Regions from separate parts of the Homo sapiens genome. Here all the other regions are linked to region 1. Evidence: promoter capture Hi-C in human tissues and cell types (Jung and others, 2019). All regions are on one chromosome and are shown on one strand. Each heading gives the region's core, a stretch centred on a gene start or on the middle of the fragment in contact. The rest is flanking DNA. Distances are from core to core; before and after follow the strand shown. Region 1 holds the start of OSR1 (odd-skipped related transcription factor 1). Region 2 has its middle 110 kb from the start of LINC00954. Region 3 overlaps LOC124905977. Region 4 overlaps LOC105373456 (a long non-coding RNA gene). Region 5 overlaps LOC105373456 (a long non-coding RNA gene). Region 6 overlaps LOC124905977. Region 7 holds the start of LOC124907738 (a long non-coding RNA gene).

Region 1 (2,750 bases), core at 168-2,667:
AACAAGACGAAGTTACCCAGGGGTTAGAGGCTAGATTCTGTTCTAAAGGCCTGGGGATATAAGGAAATCCTCTTTCAACTATGCCTTTGAGGGAGGGGAGTCTTCATTACCATCTCCCTAGGTCAGGTATTACAACCTTCTTCACCTCCCAAGAAAATCAGATTAGCTTTGCAAACCAAAGCTGGAGATAGCAGAAGCTCCTCGGGAGAGAAGCAGTACAGTACTTAGGGACCCACGGAATCTAGGATCCAGCTCCAAGAGTCACTCAGCAGCAACTCTGGGGCAAAGGCAGAGAGTGCAGTTGTGTGATCTGGACCCACACAAGTCCCAGGAAACCAGTGACTCCTCCTTGCCAAACCCAAGGCCTGGAAGGGTATTCCAGAAAGGCATTAGGGAGGGATTGGGCTGGGGTCAGCCGGAGGTCAGCTTTCAGAGATGGGTAGTCAAGGGGGTGATGGTACCCTCCATAATGCCTAGGCAATGAAGATAGAATTTTTAATGTCCAGAACTCTGATTCCTTTCCGATTAAAAACTCCACCTGAACCAGCTCCTTGACTCAGAGGCCCTGGAACTGACAACTTTGCAGCTCGTCTAGCTTGCCAGTGCGGCTCTCTAAACTCTGATCCATCCTAAAACAAATATGTAAGTAGAGAGTGCCACTGTGCATTGGGGTGAAATCTCAGAGAGTTCTGGGCCCCAGGAAAATAACTTTCCTGACCTCCTTTCCCTACTCTTTGTTCTTTCTACTGGACTCCAGAACTTAGGGTCTGGGGTCAACCATAAGCACTCAGATGTTACAGCTCGCTTGCTTCGGTGACCCTGGCCCTCCCGCACCAGGAATTAACCAGCGCTGCCTGGGTTAACACCCTGGCCCCGAGCACGCTTGGATAGCCAGGAGCTGCTCCACACTCGGGGTCTGCCGCCTCTGGAAAGAGATTCTGGGAGGAGATGCGACTCTGTCAGGCGCCAAAGTGCGTTGAAACCCAAGCCGCGGTGTGGGGATCCCGGTGCACAGAGCTACTGCCCCTCCCTCCCTCCTCCCAAAGAGCACGGGCTGTGTCCTAGGAGCCCAAGTATAGGACCTCGAAACGTGCGGTGCCAGCCCGCTCTCATCTGCTAGGGACCGTTTCCTCCAGTGCGCCAGGCGTGCCGCTCTGGACCTAAAAAGGCAGCAGGGGTCGCGCGGGACTGAAGAGGAGGGGACGCAGGTTGGGAGAGGCCGGGTCCAAGCGAGAGCAGCTGCCAAAGTCTGCTGCCCGGGTCAGCAAAAACTTTGTCTTTCATTGCGCAGGCGCAGGGCAGGGTTGGGGGGCAGGGGAGGGAGGGGAGGAATCCTGAGGCAAGGGGCGGGGGTGGGGGTGGTGGAGGAGGGAGGGTGGTGGATTAAAATAAGTAGGCGGCTCGGTGCTAAGGGATGAGTGAGTCGGAGCTCGGCCTCTCCCCGGCACGTTCTCAGCTGCTCCTGGTTCAGACCCAGCGAGGGAGCCGCGAGCGAGGCTCACCGTCCCCGGCGTGCAGGATCCGGGGCTGCTGAGCGCTCGCTCCCGCGTGTCCGGCGCTTGGAGTCCCCGCGGCAGGAGAGGAGTCGGGACACTAGAGCTCCAGGGGCGCCTGTGGGCTCCAGGGCCTCCGGCTTCCCCAGTCCCCTTCAGCTAAAGCCCCAGAGACGTGCTCAGCCCCAGGACCTCTGCGGAACAAGGTAATTGCAGTCCTGGGCGCCTGGGCTCAGCAAAGCGAATGCGGGCAGGACTCCCAGGTTCCTTGTCACTGCTCGGCGGGTGCCTCCTCTCTCTCAATGCCCCTGAAGGAAGCTCTTGCCAAACGAATGCTGTAGGACTTTTGTGAAAGTGAGAGCAGGGTGGTTGGGGGTGCTGCCTCAGGACTTCCTGCGCGGGGTCCTCGGCCTCTGACCGCTGGGGATTAAGGGGGGCGGGCCTCCGCTACTGCGGCCAGCCCGCCCGGCTCTGCGGAATCACGGGCGAGGTGCCCACGGACTTTGAAAGTCAATCTGTGGGCCCCCTTTAAGAAACCAGAGCAACTTCAGCGGGCACAAACTTTCCTGAGACGCGCTCCTAGCTCTGGCTGACGCCCAGGTTGACGAAGAAGGAAGGGAGAGGGAGTGAATGGCCACAGCCGCAGCCGACCGCGCCAGGGACAGGTGCATGCCCCAGCTCGGTAGCGCTTTCGTTCAAGTTTGTCTTTTGAGGAGTTGCGCTCTAGTATGAGGCCGCCTAGACCCGAGAGCGCAGGGCTGCGAGTCTGAACCCCGCCTTGCACTCGCGCTCTAACTTAGGGATATTCTCCATAGGATGATTGCTCTGTGTCGTCAAGGCCTGGAGCGGAACCCTTGATTGTCCTGGTGCAGGGAGGCAATGCAGTGGGCGCAAGCACTGCTTTCCAATTCGAGACCCACACACAGCACTAGTGGAAACTCTGTGGAGCCCTAGGGTCTCCGGGCTGGGGACAGGAAAAGTTCTGTTACTCCCCTGACTGTCCGCTAATCCAGCCGTCAGGAGAGAAAGAAGGGGGAAAGGGGTGAAGGGCTGCCTGCTGAACTAATTTCTCCTCGGAAATGTCTCGGAGAAGAATGAAAAACCACGTTTAGTCCTTTTTCAGCAGCTCAGGCAGTAGCGGGTTGGGTTCTCAATGTGTAAAGTAGCCGCAAGGGTTTCTTTGTTGCCACAATTTGGTAAATTTCACCCAGGCTAAGAGCTGCGCATTGGCTCTGCGGAACAAAACCACGTGCAAGG
Region 2 (2,750 bases), core at 119-2,618, 410 kb before region 1:
GGATCCAGTTCCCTTGAAATGAAATGGGACTTGCAAGGAATTCTTTGTTCTTGCTTTGTAGAAAGAGGCAGAACAGAGAAGACATGTACTTCAGGGGAGTTTTGTGATACTTTTCTTGTCCCAGCTTCTTGTCCTATTCTGTTTCTCTGCAGTCTTTCTTTCCAGAGAAAGTTTGACTCAAAAGATGGTTGGATGTTGGGCTCTGGTTGAGCCTGAGGCTCTTGGCTTCCAGAGTGAGCCCAGCAGCCCTTGTGCTGGCTTGGTGTCTGTAATAGTAAGTTTGTTTAATGAACAAAAAACATAATGACTTTAATTAGGTTTTAGTGTAAATAATGAGCAAGATTACAGAGCAGGTTCTTTTGTCACTCTTATGGAATTTATGGTTGTTTGAAAAGTCAACACTGACTTCTAGCCACTTCTGTCCTCATTTCTTGGTCAACCCAGCATCTTCATTAATCAATAGGGTTGACTTTTGATGACTGAGTGGAAACTCTGAGCTGGACTTTCCTACTTTGGAGTAAGCCCACCCTTCCTCACCCCCATGTCCATCTGGGGCTCCAGTCTTAGCCTAGATGCCCACTCCTGAGGGGCTGTGCTTTGAGAAGATACTGGGCAGGGGTGAATAGAGGGCCAGCAATGTTGGAGGTAGTGGTCCATTCAATGAAAGACAGGCTGGGGAGTTCTGGCCTTCCACCCAGAGCCCGATTCCATCCTGTGCTGAATATCTACTATATTTCAGGTACTGTGCTGCTCACAAAATCCCCAAAGGCTAGAGGGGCTCATAGCAGGCCAGATCAAACCTGCTTCAGAGAAACTGAGAAGGACAAAGGCCAAAAACAAGCACTCATATAAGATCTGGCATATGCCAATAGCCTAAGGCCTCCCATAGGCCAAGACAGAGTCCACAGCCATTTGGGCAATGGGTGCAAAGTGGGCTTTGTGGGATGAGCTGGGGAGGAGCTGAAGTTGCTCTTTGGGTGATCAAGCCTTCTCTATACCCTAAAGGCTGAGATGCCAGTTTCCATGGTTTGTAAAGTTATTTTTTTTTCTAATCTGGTTCTCATTCCCTGTTGTCAGCATTTTATTTGCTAGCCTGGCATCTCCAGCTTCAAAGATACTACCCATGGACCAGTCTCCTATCCCAGGGACCAGCCCCCACATGGCTTAGAGATGCTGAGAAAGAGCACAGCTGCCCTATTTCTTTGACCAACCACAAAGCTGGTTTTCATTTACTGCCCTGAGAGAAACTTCCTGAAGACAGGGGCCTCTGTCTGTATCTGAACTTCTTGGGCAGTGAGTCCCTTTTTCCCTGACCACACCCTCCACTGTCCCTCATGAGAGACCTACCCACTTCCCTGAGCCCCTCCTGATGGTGCCCAATGCAGCTAGAGCTGGCCCAGCTTTCCCTGCCTGGGTCTCTACCAGGAGGTTGATGAGAGCTGTTCTGCCCATGGACTTGAGGGCCTCGTTTCCAGCTTCCAACACATGCTCTCTTTCCACTGGAGGAGAGGGCAGGTTCTGATAATCTTGTCCTCTCTTCCCAGGTGACTCAAGATTGGCCTCATGAGTAGGGCTCACCAGCCTCAGCTCTCTGGCACAGCCCCATGCTCACTGGAGCTGTGGTGTGGAGGGGCTTGAGTGTGCCTGATGGAGGGGCAGGCAGCACCCTAGTGTGTTCAGAGAGTAGCAGAAGCCTAGGCTGCTCTGGGCCCCACTGTGTGCTGCAGCCTGGTGGTCATAATGATTTCCCAGTTATTTATTGTCATAACATTAATCACTCTGAACTCACTTGGCATTAATGAGGACATAATGTGTACTTGGACAGGAATTTTTATTGTAGTGCAGCATTAACTAACTGGCCTATTATTTAAAGTGTTACCAGACCTGGTATGTACAAATGGTTTACTTTGCAGTCTCCAAGTGTTGAAACTTTGTATGGTTTGTGTCAAGAAAATAGGAATATGGAACACAAAGAAGGCAGGGGCTGAAGTAATGTGGGGCTGTCTTCTGGCTGTCAGGGATACAGAGTACACTCAAGAAGGGGGTGCCCACTGGTCAGCCTGGGCACCCACCTCTGCCCTGGGCCTCTGCTGGTCTAATTCGTATGTCTGGGCTGGATGCCGGATGTGAGAAGCTTGGGGTGGTATTGAGGTGCTTTCTGAGTTACCACCATGGGGACAAAGAGGAGCAGAATAACAGGATTTAGAATGTAAAAAGGCTGTAGCCTATGCTGAAGATCACGTGTTTTTCAGATTCTTCCTCGATTCTTCGTCAGTGGCAGCTGTAGCCCTTGTCCTCCTGCACCTGCCCATCTGTGGGTCTCCACTCTTCTCCACCATCAGCCTACCCTGTTGAGGCTTGGCCCTCACTGCCCACCCTTACTGAGCATCAGCTCTTGAGATGCTCTGAGCTTCCTGGCCTTTTCATGTGCTATTACCTTGTTTGGCTAATGTCTTTTCATCTTTTGAGATTTAACTCAGGCAACATACCCTTTATGAAGTTTCCTAGTTTCCCCCGCTCCAAAGGTTTATTTAGATGCCCTTTCTATGTGGACCCCTGTTAAGGGCCACACATGCACACATACTGGGGAAATGACTCAGATGAGTATGAGATAGTCCTTGCCAGTTTAGTGTGGAAGGCCAGCCAGCCACACACATCCACATCCACACACACACCCACACACACCTCAGTTAGCTAACAGGAATTTGGTGCATAAAATGCTTTAGAGATAAGGTGCTAAACTATGCAGT
Region 3 (2,750 bases), core at 103-2,602, 340 kb before region 1:
CCCTCCCCACTGCCACCACTTCCCACTGGGAAACATATACATGCTCCTATCCTCATCTACCCCTCTTCATCTAGCTAATGGCTACTCACCTCCCAGGAGTCCATTAAGAAGCCCCTTCCTTGAGGAAGCCTTCCATAACTGCCAGGGGTGGGATAGGGCTCATCCTTCCTTACACTTTCTCTTACATACATTTCTCTCACTCTTTTGTAATTGTCTGGTTCCTGGATCCATCTAGAAGGTGACCTCTGTGAAGGCAGAGACTGTGATCAGTTCATCTTGGTGCCTTTTTTTTTCAGTCTTGTCTTCCTCAGCTGGAACCTCCTATAGGTAGGAATCAGGCTTTCTCTTTACACCGCATGGAGAGAAGCATATGTGAGGGCTCCATACAGCTAGGTGACTGACTAATACGTTTTGGAGAGAGCAGTCAGAGACATAATCACCCGTGAATTCGTCTGTTTAGCATAATGAATGAGAGTATGGGTTCTGAAGTCAGCACAAGACCTGGTTTGAGCCACAGCTCCTTGGTGTGCCACTTTCCCAGGAGGGGGACTCAGACCTCCAGGCAAGACAGATGTTGTCAAGGAGCTTGGAGTGGGGCAGTTGGCTGATGGCCTCCAGCTACTGCATCTTTGGGATCCTCTGCAGTGTTTGAGCCAAGCTTGCTCTCACCCTGGGCTTCTCCCAGCCAACAGCTGAGCACAGCAGCACTCCAGGGGCCTGGGTATTTCAGCTCTGTGTGGGACCCTCTGCAGGCAATCTTTGCACTGGAGCTATCTGTTGGGCCATGAGATTTTTTCAGATATGCATTAAAGTCAGGCCTTTCTGCCCAATCTTTCTTCCTCCTGCCAATCCTTTTGCAGATGTCTGAAAGTCCTCCTGCTTCTCCCTTTCCCTCTCCCTGTTGTCTTTCACAGTTGTTTTTCCAATAAATCTCTTGCACTTCTAACTTTGCTTGACATCTGCTTTCCAGAGCAGCAACTGACACACTCTGTCACCTTAGATAGACTTCTTCACTGGTCTCTGCCTCAGTTTTCTCATCTATACAATGGGTGTAGAAACAGTAACAGTTTCATAGTTCAATAGTGAGGATTAAATGAGACCATACATGTTAAGTGCTTACTGTGGTTTCTGGCACATAATAAGTACTCAAAAAACCCAGCCAGGTACAGCCACATATAAAACCTAACACCTATAATCCACCAGACCTGGTGTTTCCCAGAGTGTCTTCCTTGTCTGTCTGCCCTGATCCCCCAGCCCCCAGCTCCAGGTCTGGCATGCAGTGGGTACTCAGTGAAAGCTAAGTGGGAGTGGAGGCCAGGAAAGCACTTCCTGCTTTCACAGCTGGAACAGCAAATGCAGTCCCTGAGCTGGCCCCTGTGAATGGACCTGCCTCTGGAGCCACAGCCACCCCTTGAAGACTCGCATGAGCTGGGCCAGGATGAAGACACACCCAGGTGGCCACCAGCAGGGCTCCTTTGCTGATCCCTGCCAGTGGGTGGCTTTACTGACCCTAGGGCTACCTCATCATGTGGCAGAAAGAAGGGGAGAGTGAGGGAATCCTTCTCCCTCTCTGTGGAAAGAGGTCCCACATGTCCCCTCTGGAAAAGGCCAGGCTCCTGGAGCCCCTGTAGTGGGCCTGACTAAGCCAGTTGCTCAGTCTCAGAGGGTGTGGGCAGGTGCACAGGCCTGAAGGTGACACCTGACCCCAACTCGGAGCCCCTCCGTGGCCAGGAATTAACAATTCTTAGGGCCTGGCTTTTCAGGATGCTGCTAATGGAAGCAATAGAGGGAGGTGAGGCCATGAGATGCCCTCTTATTTGTGGGGTCACAGGTGGTGCACTGTACAAATGCATTCATAGCCCAGGATCGCTCACTACAGATGGCCCTGGTGATGGTCTGTGAGCCCCCAGGAGGTCAGTGTGCATCTGCCTGCCCTGGGCCTGTGGACAGAAAAAGCTGTAGATCATAGAGGCTTCAATTAGTTGTCCTTGGACCATTCATTTATGAGGTGACTATTTGGAAAAAGCCATTGTTCAATATAGATGTTGCAAAAGCTATTTTCGCCTGGGAATCTTTTCTGGAACAAGGGACCCAGGGCTTGCCTAAGCTGACCTCCATGGCTTAGAGAGAGGGCCATTTTTCTCTCTGCTTTCCTTAGAAACTGGGGCTGGGTCTCAGGGGTCAAGCACTCAGCAACATGCCACCACCCTTGACTGAGCACTTCCATGGGTAGAGTACTGTGTTAGCCTTCATAGATGTCATTTCCAATGGATACTCATAGAAACCCTACGAGGGAGGTCATCAGGGACCACCCCCTGCCCATTTTATAGATGAGGAATCAACTAAGGCTCAGAGACAAAATGTCTTGTGGAGGCCCATGGTGAGAGAAGCCAGGGTTTCATTCCCTGCGTCCAGATGTCAGTGTCTAGTGTCCCATCTGAGTGCATTGTCTCTCAATGTACTCAGAGGGTCAGGGAGCTGGGAGGCTAGAGGGTATCTTGCAGATCACCAAAATAAAGGGCTCCTTGGAAAATCTGTGAGTTCTTCCTTTAATCCTTCCTAAAATACTTTACCCAAATAAAATTCCAGGGACCCCAGCCACCTACGTTCCTGGCTCCAGCCATGAGAAAACTCTATGTCCAAGCATGTTAAGGCTGATATCTTTTCCAGTTTGCAAAAATTTCTTTAAGTTTCATTGAAAGATGTTCTCTCTTGTGGGTATTTATAAATATATATGTCCAAATAAAATG
Region 4 (2,750 bases), core at 162-2,661, 330 kb after region 1:
TTTTGAGAAATCAATAAATAGATAAGGAGGAAAGAATTAAGGGCAGAGCGGGATAGGGAGATAAATAAGAATAAAAGCAAATTTGCTAGACCCTTGCTTACATTATTACCACACGAAAAGACAGATGGGAAAAATCTCCTTCAAAGTCACTGATTCATTTGTGCCAACCCCTAGTAACACCTAGCAACTTCCTATTATTGAAATTGTGAAACTAAGCCTGGAATGGAACATTCTGTATCAGCCTTAGTCATTGATCCCATTGATTCAGCATGGTGCTTCATGGAATCCAAGAGATTGCCTAGAGCAGAATTCATTCTTTCTGTTTCCTCCAAAGTGCCAGCAAAGCATCTTCAAGTGGAGCCAGCTAATCTGAACAGCATTTGAGCATGCGGTGCTCCCATGAGTTACAAGTACGTGAATTACAGGCAAGATGTGCACACAGGGATAGACACCACTGACTCCAGGAGGCCCCCAAGGGAGGAAGACTTCTTGGTCCACCAAGTTTGGTAATACACCTGGATCCTTCAGCAATGGTATACAAAAGAACTCTCCCTGAAGCATAGGATCCTGAATGCAGCATTATTTATGGAAAGTGAGGCAGTACAACGAAGAACCTGGCCTCTTCCTTTCTCCTGGGCTCTGAGTACCTCCCTTGGGAAGGCTGTCCAATCATGGCAGTCAGAGGTTATGTGCAAGTGTTGTTTGAGGGGAGCAGCAAAGAGCCGACTGCAGGTGTGGGCATGCCCCCTCCTCCATCCTAGGCCTTCTGGAGAAGACTGCGCTTTCTGAGAAAGGCCTAATGAAAAGGATCAAGCTCACACAGAGGCCCTGCTGTGCAGGAAGATTGCTTCCAAGAAGCGATTCATTTTTAGTTTAACAACTGTGCGTTTGGTCCCCACACAATTTATCTTCATGCAAAATCACATACCTGTGTGCCAGATGTGCACAGCTGTATATGAGCAACTGCTGATCTATCTGTATCACATGCCAAGTGCCTGTTTCTTTAAATTAGGGTGGGTTGGGATTTGGGCCATGTGAAAATTTCATTTTGAAACCAGAAACCAAGCAAGCCCTGACTGTGGAGGGGCGGGGGCGGGGGGCGGGCGTTGAGCATAGCATGATGATGAACCAAGGTTGACTTAGTCTTTTCCAGGACCCCCCAGAAACTCCCCCCTTTCACGACCCCTAAAATTCAGCTGCATTCTAGGTCTGGAGAGGTTAGGCTATCTGGAGACTTAGTTCTGCCAAAGTGTGCGGCCCTTGTAAATGCCTGTGGTGAAACTGCAAAACCTCTGCCCAGCCCTCAGGAGCTCTTGAAGCAAAATAGAACTTGACATTTTTAGATGGTGTTTGAGTTTTTACCCTCTGGATTCAGAAGAAGCAAGACCACAGTACACAAAATGAAGGCTACTACCCCAGTAGCGGGGCATTGCAATCCACCCAAGAGCAGGAAACTGAAGTGATGAGGGGACCGTTCCTCTGGAAACCCACAGCTTTGCGTGCACTGAGGGATCCACAACAGAACACGTGGACGTTTCCCCTCTGGTCTTGCCTATTTGTGCTTTCATAGCCAAAGAAAGTCAATAGGAAAAGGAGACTCATCCATCATTTTGTCAGTTTATGACTTATTTTTGAGTATCCACTAATGCTAGGTGTCCAGGTAGATATCAACAGGAGGTAAAGGAGTATAGTGCTTGACCCATAATAAATATTCAATATATGTTATTTGCTGATAAGGTGATTGCAGATGTACTATTTTTTTTTTTAATTTTTGAGGACCTACCAGATGTCAGATACTATGCATAAAATCCCCTGTTAATTCTCACATCGCAACAAAGCAGGCAATATTACTCCTATTTTGCCAGTAGGAAAACTGAGGCTCAGAGAGGTTACAAAACTTAATTTTAAAAGTCATGTATCTCATACATGGTGGAGTTAGGCTTAAGATTTAGCTGTGTTTGATTTCAAATTCTGTCTTCGTTCCACCATGCTGCTGTTGTTTCTTCTCTAGCAGTTCTCAGAGCCTCAAGAGAAGGCTTTTCCCTCTAGGAGTGTACTGCATTTGCTCCTTCTGGCCTGGAGACCTGCCCCTTTAATAGGTAACCTGGATGAAAGACCCCAGAGCGACCTCCCCACAGTTACACCTCCTAGTTCCTTTCTGGTTCTCACATGGGCAGGCACTGATAAATCAGCTCACGGTACACAGGCTCAGTTTGAATTTCAACAACATTTTCTAAAAACAGTAACCAGATGCAATTCAAATCACATTTTGTCCACATAAGGAATCCATTCCAAGAAAAGTCAGAGGATGCGTCTCAGTCAGATGAGTGGCTTCTAATCTTCCCTGGCCTTGTTTTAGAACTCCAAGAAGAAATAATATCCAGATTAATTTTAGAGTTCAGTCATTGAATTTGGTCTCAGGAAAATTGCATATATAATTTAGTCTTATAACGATAACCCCGAGATCAAAGATCACTCAAGGGTAGTGATCCCTCTAGACACCTGTCACACTCAAAACAATTTCCTCTTTTCAGTTTAAAGAACTATTTCAGACTTTGTTTTCTCACAGGCTACTTTGAAGAAACAGGCCACCATCCTGGGAGTAAAACAGAGTTCTTCACGAATTACATCATTTATTTTTCAACAAATATTAACTTAATTTGGTTTAGTTTAATAAGAGCGCATGATCACAGATTTGATAACCAAATGGATTCCTTGACATAAACTTCAGTCCTGGTTTAGCTCTCTTC
Region 5 (2,750 bases), core at 68-2,567, 280 kb after region 1:
CATTTTCTATATGGGTTAATTCAACTTTTGTGCCATCAATGAGCCCTGGGGCAGAAACTCATACCTGTGATGTGTCCAGCATCACAACAGGTTTTGCATAGATGGAAAGAGTGTAGCATCAGCACTGATCATGGTGAAAATGGACAATGGTGAGTGAAGTAAGCTCCAGGGTTTTAATCTGATAAGAAAAATATTATTAAACATTTAATTGGGGCCTATTTTTGTGTGAGGTACTTGCATAGATGTTAACCCACTTAGTCATTATGGGCATCCTGCGGGACAGGTATTGTTCTCTCTTATAAGTCAGGGAACTGAGGGTCTTTGGTTCAATAGAAAGCCACCTGGACTGGAGTTAGAAGTGACCAGATCTTTCACTTAATGGTGGAATGGCCTTGGGGAGGTTGCTTATTCTTGGTCATCATTGTGGACTTGGCCCTTATGACGCTGAAGGCCCTTCCAGCTCTGACACCAATGGTTCTAGTTTATTCCACTGCTTGCTAGTGTATTCCACACACAGGTCAAAGACATTGCTGGCAGACATTGTGTGTTCCTTCACGTTTATGTGATTGTGGTTTACAAATAAACTCATTCTTTGTGTATGCCAACTACTCTCTTTAGAATAGACCACAGCCCAATGCCCCACCAGGAGCTGGCTCAGAAAAAGCTCCAGAGGCTACTCATGGCTGGCTTGGAAACCCGTTCTCTGAAAGAAGCCAAAGAAAGATGCCAGTTTGCTCTGCAGGGGAGAAAAGGCCTCATATAGGGTGGGACACAGGCATTCTGTGCTACTCATTCTTTAAGACCAAAGGTAATGATCAACATGCTATTTTTGGTGCCAGCCATGGCCACTGGAGTCACTACTCATTAATACTATGAATGCAACCTTCATATCCATTATGCAGAAGATAAAGGCAGCCAATAGAGCCACAAGTGCTGACTGTGTGACTCAGGCTACAGAAGGAACTTCTGTAGGAAGGGCCAGCTGCTCCCTTCATAGAGACACTTGCACAACCAGGACTTTGTATCATTCTCACTATTCACATAAGACAATGTCTCTCATTTACAAACAGAGCAAGGCTTCTAAAACAGCAATCTTAGCAGCTATCAGTGCCCTAGGGACTATTTTATGAAAACTACTTTGTGAGCCCTATCTATATATTTACACTTTAAACATTAAATTTACTCACATGTAAGCTCTTGTAGAACACATTTGTATGACCTATCCAAAGAGATGTATAAACTATCTGATGAGGCTATTTACTTACTTTAATAAATGAAACGAAACACAAAATGCTTCGAAGACTTTAAAAAATATGAAAATCCCATCATTTCCAGCACCTCAGCAGATAAAATCAGGTGGCTAATCTGGATTTCTCAGCCAATTACTCTTATGTAATGGAGTTTCTGAGAGCCTTTCTCTGCATAGTCATATAAGAACAATATGCAATATCTGCATTTGCAGACTGCCTTTTTTTTGTTTTTGTTTGTTTGTTTTTTGAGACAGAGTCTCACTCTGTCGCCCAAGCTGGAATGCAGCAGCATGATCTCTGCTCACTGCAACTCCACCTCCTGGGTTCTCCTGCCTCAGCCTCCCGAGTAGCTGGGATTACAGGTGCCTGCCACCATGCCTGGCCAATTTTTGTATTTTTAGTAGAGACAGAGTTTCGCCATGTTGACCAGGCTGGTCTCGAACTCCTGACCTTAGGTGATCCGCCTGCCTCGGCCTCCCAAAGTACTGGGATTACAGGTGAAAGCCACCATGCCCAGCCTGCAGCCTGCCTTCTGACTGGCAGTAAGTTTGCAGGACCCCAGCAAAACATTCTTATAGGGACAACAAAAGTGGAAATATATTCCTTAGACACTTGAGAGTGACAGAGTGTGGTCATACTTGGTTTCAGAAATAAGATATTCTTCGTGATGAACAAGCATTAACATTTCATGCACAACAAAACCACTCAACTCTATACCCTCACCTATTTCCTATTGGTATCTTCTCCTTATACCACAGCAATCTATGCAGGATTCCTGGTTCTACTGATCAAGTAGCCTGATGAATTCCCCAAGTGTAAATATCAACAGTTAATAAATCAATTTTCTCTTTAATGGGATAGAGGAGATACTAGTTCTGTGCAACTGGATAAAGACATTCTACTTCACCAGAACTACCAGTTTAGTGATAAACTGGATAAAGGCATTATCCAAACACCCTTCTATGTGCTAGGTGCTTACTGAGACAGAATTTACTCTAAGAGTATTTGTGTGTAAAAAAATAGGCATGGACTGTGTTGCTTTTGCAATTTAATACCCATTTCACCTCAAATATATGGCAGAAAGAACTACAAAGTTGCAAATATAAAGCTTTCAAAAGCAAAACATATTCAATCTCCCTATCCCTCTATAAAAGACTGGAATTCTCCTCAGGCATCCTTTAGATACGCTATCTAGATTTTAAAGTGTCCTTTCAATCCTCTTGTTGAATGCTAACCCCAACCTTCAGGCTGCCCTCACTTCCGATGTGACAGCAACCCTACACCCCTATCCTGACAGAAGGATGGTGGCATTGCCAGGTCCCTATTTCTCCCCCACCTTAGCTGGACGGACATTGTTGCCTTTCAGAGCAGTCAGAGCTCATCATTGTGACCTGTTTTAATCTGACATGTGACTCTTCCACATTTACCAACTCCCCTACAACCTTTTCCTTCCCAGCATCTGTAGTGGCATTAACTTCCTGTTATTTCAGTAATTAAGAT
Region 6 (2,750 bases), core at 86-2,585, 280 kb before region 1:
TTGTTCTGATCCAAGGGACATTAGGGAGCCAAGGGGCTGGGAGGGAGCAGAGGCAGTGTGGCATCCTACCTGCTCCATCATAGATCTCTGCACCTGGGGGATGGGTGGGCGTCAACAGCAGGCACTTCCCCAGTGCCCTTGCTCTCCTCTCGCCTGCACAGCTCCCTGTGTAAATGCCTCAAGCTTCAGGTAGGTGGTGGCTCCCATCTCTAGCATAGACTCAATCTCTTCACACTGGTTTTGTCCTTTCAGAAGGAGATTGGCTGAGGAGGAGATTCAAGCAACGTTGTATCATGGAAGTGTGCTTGACATTATGTCTTAAGTATCTCTGCGTGCTTTACAGAACTTAGAACTTACAGAACTTAGAACACGCAAGATATACAACAGATATTTAATTCTCATTTGATTGATTGACAATCCAAGTGATTTTTCAATTTGAAAGCAAAAGGCTTAATTTCTCTTTGCAACATGTAAATGCAAACACACGATGTACGGCCAGTTCTCTGGTGCTTCATTTTAGAGTAGTTCCTGGACCACAGGACCACTCCTGTGACTAGGAAATCCAGAGGTGAAATAAGCCACAGACAACTGGATCTGGGTATCAAGTCAGGCTCCAGGGCCCTGTCTTGTGTTTCATGGCTCTGCTCTCCTCCTGCGTTGGTCTTTCTTCTCTGCTGATGGGAGGTGGTAGAACACAGTGCATAGCTCTGCAGCCAGACTGCTGAGTGACCATGAACAAGTTAACTAGCCTCCCTGGGCCTTAGTCTTATCATCTAAAAAACCACCATAATAGTGGGAATCCTCCCATGGGTTGTTGTGAGGCTTACATTAGTGAATATGCGTAAGCCTTTAGAGTAGTCCCTGGACCATAGTAAACACCATGAGAGGTTTGCCATTGTTGGTGTTATTGTTGTCTGTGCAGACTGGGGAGAAGGACATGGCCTTAGATTAAAACTAATATCTCAGCCCAGAGGAAAGAAATTTCTTTTCGTCCCTGTCCATGTACATAGCTCTCCAGGGGGACTGTCACTACCCTGCTTGATTCACATGCTAAGATCTTGACCCCATTGCCATGGACAGGGTTGATAGTTACTGTGATTGACAGTTCCACCATAATTACAAGGACTTGGGGACCAACAGTTCCCCAAAGGAGCAGCAGACATTTTACTATTCGCTCATCCATTTACTCAATGAATGTTTATTAATTGTCTCTTATGGACCAGGCACTGTTCTGAGCATTGGGCTAATATCAGTGCCAAAGAACATGAAGAACTCTCTGCCCTCATAGAACTTATGTCTCACTGATAACAAGAGGAGACACATAGTGCGTAAACAAAAGACAGAAAATTTTGAATGTAGTTAAGTGCTATGTTTAACATAAAATAAGATGATGTCGGGAGAGTGCAGAGTGGCCAGAGATAGCATCTCTCAGTAGGCCACCTTGAAACGGAGACCTAAATGCCAAGAAGGAGTCAGCCATGCATAGATTTGTGGTAAGAGTGTGCCAAGCAGAGGGAGCAATTAGTATAGTGGCCCTGGAGCAGGAATGAGCTCTGTGTGTTTGAGAAAGAGAGAGGAAGACTGTGTGACTGCAGTCCACTTGGTGTAATGGAGAGGGGGATGGAGCGAGGCTGGAGGGGGAGCATGACCAGGGAGAACTCGCTGGTACTTTTAGGATGCTGATGTTTTTCCAAAGTCATTCTGGCCGCCATGAGGGGAATAGATGGTAGAGAGGCAAGAGTGGATGCAGGAGAGGAGTGAGTGTCCCAGTGAAAGATGATGGCAGCTGGGCTAGCAGGCAAGTTGCAACTGGAAATGGGTTCAGGACCTGACTGGAAGCAAGGCTGGCAGGATTGGCCAATGGATTAGACATAGGGAAGGACATCAATGATGACAACTGGGCTTATGATTTGAACAACTAGGTGGATAGTGCTGTCCTTTAACAAGAAGGGGAAGATTGAAGTGGGTAAAGGGAAAGCAAATCCAGAGCTCTTTGTTAGATTTGCTGAGTCTAGATTTCTGTTAGATTAGTAGGTACTTAGATAGATGCAACTGGAATTCTGGAGAGACAGAAGGGCTGGGAATGCTGTCATCAGCCTGTAGATGGTATTAAAATCATGTGGCAGGATGAGCTTACTTAAGGAGTGGAGAAGAAGAACAAGGAAGAGCTCAGGAGGAGGGAAGGGATGCTGGATAGAATTAAAAAGTGCTGCCTACTCCCTTTCCCTTTTCTGAGAAAGGAGAGACGTCTTTACTGTGAAATTTTTCTTGAGAGCCTTGACCAAAAAGAGGAAGAATTCCTTTGGTCCTTCTGGTGGCTGGACCAGGAGAAGGAGAGCTTTATCAGGCTACCTGAATGTTCCCAAAGCTGAACAAATCAGCTTTCAACAATCTTGCTTAAGTTTCTCAGGCATTCATTTTATTAGTTAATTGGTTTTTGCTCCATCTCTTTTGGGGCATTTTATTGTTGTCAAGCTCATCATGGTTTTGTATCTTTTAGGAGTTATTTAACATTTATGAGCTCTGGATTTGCACATTTTTTTTTCATAAAGGGGTCTTTTGGAGGTCCTGCGTCCATGGGGGGAGCTTGGGGGGTGTCAGGGAAGAGATGACTGAAACTCTGTCTCCCTAATTTTAACAGTACAGTTGTACATTTTGCTATTTTATATAGCACTCTGCGTATGATTATGCTGTCATTTGAAGATAGATTCCACAGCCACAGATGTATGAAAACCACAGTGGTAGAGCAT
Region 7 (2,750 bases), core at 95-2,594, 260 kb after region 1:
TCAGTCCTGGTTCCTTCATTTATTTCTCCCTCTTTTGTTGAACTTGGTTTTCAGTTCCTGTTTTTCTGCTTTTGCACGTGATCTTAATGTGCCTCTGGCCAGCTGTATCCCAGACTTACTGGAGAGAGATGGGTGCACTTTGATGCAGTGAAAAGACCAACCCCAATGTCACTACTGCCTCTTCTGCTTACAACTCCTGGAGCTACCATCCATTTATGTCCTTCTCAGTGAGGTTTGCCCAAGCATTTGGTAAACTATATCTTTCAATTTACCTCCAAGCTTCCATCTCCCTGCCAGAGCTTTTGAAAACAGTGGTTAACCCTGCTTAGAGCATGGAGCTGTTCACTCCCTTGAGTCAGATTTTTATTTGAAAAGAAATTCAGCCTTAATAGTGCAGTACCACAAAATACAAAAGCAACTTCTTTGTGTGACAAACAACAATGAATGAGCAAAATGTCCTGTTTGTGCTTAAACAATCTTTGGAGAAGACAGCTGTCGTTTCTCTGAGACAGGAGACATCTAAAATACAGGGAAACACACACACCACCACCACCACCACTAATACTAACAATAACAAACTATGAATTCATAGTTCAATGTTTTTTTGGGGTTCCTTTGTATCACACTGAGGGGATCATAAAATAAAATATTTGATTAAAATCTTTAATTTATGAATACCTCATTAGGCATCTGAAACTGGAATTTACCTCAAGAATTTTACTTGGGGTTTGACATTTTTTGAATCATAACATGGGATTGTGAAGTTTAGTCACTGTTGATTCAAGTTTGCGGACAACAATAAAATGAAGAGGCTTAGTTCTTAGCACATTGAATTAGGGATTCAAACTCTGTGTGTTTGTTCTGTGTTGCAAACTCATTTGTCCATTGGATTTTTAAGATCTAAATTGGTATTTAGCTACACCTATACCCTTTTCAGTTTATTAAAATTTATAAATCATATATTTTTATTTCTAGAAAGTCTTTTTGCTTGGTCTCTAAATGACTTGCTTTCAGAGTATATCTTATTTTTAAAGTTCTTTTTGAACTCTTGCATCTATTCAATGTCAGTAGAAGTCATCTCTTCTAAAGGCACATCCTTATCCCTGAAAATCCTTAAATATGTTGTTATAAATTTTTTTGCTTGCTCATTTTTCTCTATAATTAATTTCAGCAAAGGCACCATCAGGTTGGAAGGTCTGTGAAAGAGTAGGGAGCAAGAGAAGGGTGGAAGGCACAGCCATGTCTCCTCCCGTGAGCCAGCTGTGAGCATGCCAGACAACCTGACTCTGCTGCTGGGGCACTAACTGAAGGCCTCTCCACAGCTAGTCTCAGCCTAATAGAGTCAGTGCAGAGGCAATAGGACCCATTTGGCCTGGTCATATTCTAGGAGAATTGACAACCTGTAGCTTCAGTCATGTTTACACCTTCCAGAGAGGATGGTGGGAGAGAAAGGAAATCAGGAAGGCATGCTCAAGTTTCCATCATTTAAATCTCTGTCCAGATTTTGATGAGTTCCAGGAAAAAAAAAAATGGCAGCTGTGAATCGAAAGCATTTTGCACCATGTCAAAGTGGAGTTCATCTTAAAAAATGTATAAATATTCAACATCAAGACACCTACCTGCATAATTCTTTGTGCAAACAAATCAGAAGGAAAAAACTGCAGGCGATCATGTAGATAGGTACAGAAATGTCATTGTTAAGATTTAGGGGGACCAGCAATTCCTAACAAGAACCCTAACAAAAGTGGAAATAAAAAATGAAGATTAGTTATAGACAAAATTTGTTAATAGTTATATATAGTTAGTTATAACATATCAAATATTGAAATGTTAAAGCCATTTTCCATAAAATTAAGAACAAAATGCAGATGGCAGCTATATTTCTCATAAGAAATGCAGCTTTGGAGACGATTTCAACCTTCATAAGACCATAACATAAAATCATTTATAAAATGCTAAAGAAAAAAATCAAAGAATATGAAATCACCTGTGTCAGAAAATACTATTTGAATAAAAACAATTGCTAGCATGCTACATTAGTTTTCTATGCTGGGTAACAAATTATACAAATTTGGAGACTTGAAATGATATGTGGTTATTATCTCACAGTTTCTGTGGATCAGAGTACTGATATAGCTTATTCAATCCTCTGCTGAGGGTCTCATGAGACTACATTCCAGGTGTTAGTCAAGCTGTGTCCTCATCTATAGGCTCAACAGTGGAAGAAACTGCTTCCAAGATCACTCAAGTAGTTGCCAGAATGTATTTCCTTGTAGTTATTGACTATGGCAGCTTGCTACTTCAAAATAAGCAATGGAGAGAGAGAGAGAAAGAGAGAGAGAGAGAGAGAGAATGTCTAGAGTGAATTGACTAGTTAGACACAGTTTTATGTTATCTCACATGCTGAAGAGAGTGACACTTCATTGCCTTTGCAATTGGTCAGAAGCAGGTCACAGTTTCTGCCTATACTCAAGGAGAGGGGGTACATGAATACCAGGAGACAGGGACCATGAAGCCCATCTTAAAGTTCCATACCCCAGGAAAACAGTTTAGCAGTTACTTAAAAAGTTAAACAAAGGATTGTCATATGACCCAGCAATTCCACTTGTACATGCATACCCACAGCAACACTATTCATAATAGCCCAAAGTAAAGACAATCTGTATTAGTCAGGGTTCTCTAGAGGGACAGAACTAATAGGATATATGCATATATGAAGGGGAGTTTATTAAGAAATATTGACTCACACG

Evidence for each region. The method cuts DNA at HindIII sites, captures the fragments that hold promoters and counts their contacts. A contact is called where the count stands out against the background at its distance.
Region 2: a contact is called between a fragment that was not itself captured here and the fragment with the promoter of OSR1 in region 1, in 1 of the 25 tissues and cell types used here (H1 embryonic stem cells).
Region 3: a contact is called between a fragment that was not itself captured here and the fragment with the promoter of OSR1 in region 1, in 1 of the 25 tissues and cell types used here (neural progenitor cells).
Region 4: a contact is called between a fragment that was not itself captured here and the fragment with the promoter of OSR1 in region 1, in 1 of the 25 tissues and cell types used here (H1 embryonic stem cells).
Region 5: a contact is called between a fragment that was not itself captured here and the fragment with the promoter of OSR1 in region 1, in 2 of the 25 tissues and cell types used here (aorta and hippocampus).
Region 6: a fragment that was not itself captured here is called in contact with the fragment with the promoter of OSR1 in region 1 in 1 of the 25 tissues and cell types used here (H1 embryonic stem cells).
Region 7: a fragment that was not itself captured here is called in contact with the fragment with the promoter of OSR1 in region 1 in 1 of the 25 tissues and cell types used here (hippocampus).

Annotation. Positions count from the first base shown.
Region 1 is chr2:19,357,290-19,360,039 of GRCh38, reverse strand. OSR1 (odd-skipped related transcription factor 1) reads left to right here and starts at 1,417. Exons shown (of 3, transcript NM_145260.3): 1 at 1,417-1,699. RefSeq lists enhancers at 1,545-2,073, 2,739-2,750. The HindIII fragment of the contact is 12,145 bases long and covers 1-2,750 here.
Region 2 is chr2:19,762,255-19,765,004 of GRCh38, reverse strand. No RefSeq gene overlaps it. Among named protein-coding and RNA genes, the nearest start is that of LINC00954, 110 kb to the left of the region's middle. The HindIII fragment of the contact is 9,190 bases long and covers 1-2,750 here.
Region 3 is chr2:19,693,681-19,696,430 of GRCh38, reverse strand. The region is part of intron 1 of LOC124905977; the gene reads left to right. Among named protein-coding and RNA genes, the nearest start is that of LINC00954, 170 kb to the left of the region's middle. The HindIII fragment of the contact is 8,525 bases long and covers 1-2,750 here.
Region 4 is chr2:19,027,357-19,030,106 of GRCh38, reverse strand. The region is part of intron 5 of LOC105373456 (a long non-coding RNA gene); the gene reads right to left. Among named protein-coding and RNA genes, the nearest start is that of LINC01376, 1.8 kb to the right of the region's middle. The HindIII fragment of the contact is 6,450 bases long and covers 1-2,750 here.
Region 5 is chr2:19,077,154-19,079,903 of GRCh38, reverse strand. All of the region lies in intron 5 of LOC105373456 (a long non-coding RNA gene), which reads right to left. It overlaps LOC124907739 (a long non-coding RNA gene), which reads right to left. Exons shown (of 2, transcript XR_007086236.1): 2 at 1-2,750. Among named protein-coding and RNA genes, the nearest start is that of LINC01376, 52 kb to the right of the region's middle. RefSeq lists a silencer at 962-1,256. The HindIII fragment of the contact is 4,532 bases long and covers 1-2,750 here.
Region 6 is chr2:19,633,192-19,635,941 of GRCh38, reverse strand. All of the region lies in intron 3 of LOC124905977, which reads left to right. Among named protein-coding and RNA genes, the nearest start is that of LINC01808, 170 kb to the right of the region's middle. The HindIII fragment of the contact is 6,142 bases long and covers 1-2,750 here.
Region 7 is chr2:19,096,692-19,099,441 of GRCh38, reverse strand. It overlaps LOC124907738 (a long non-coding RNA gene), which reads right to left and starts at 2,616. Exons shown (of 2, transcript XR_007086235.1): 1 at 1,620-2,616. The HindIII fragment of the contact is 3,551 bases long and covers 1-2,750 here.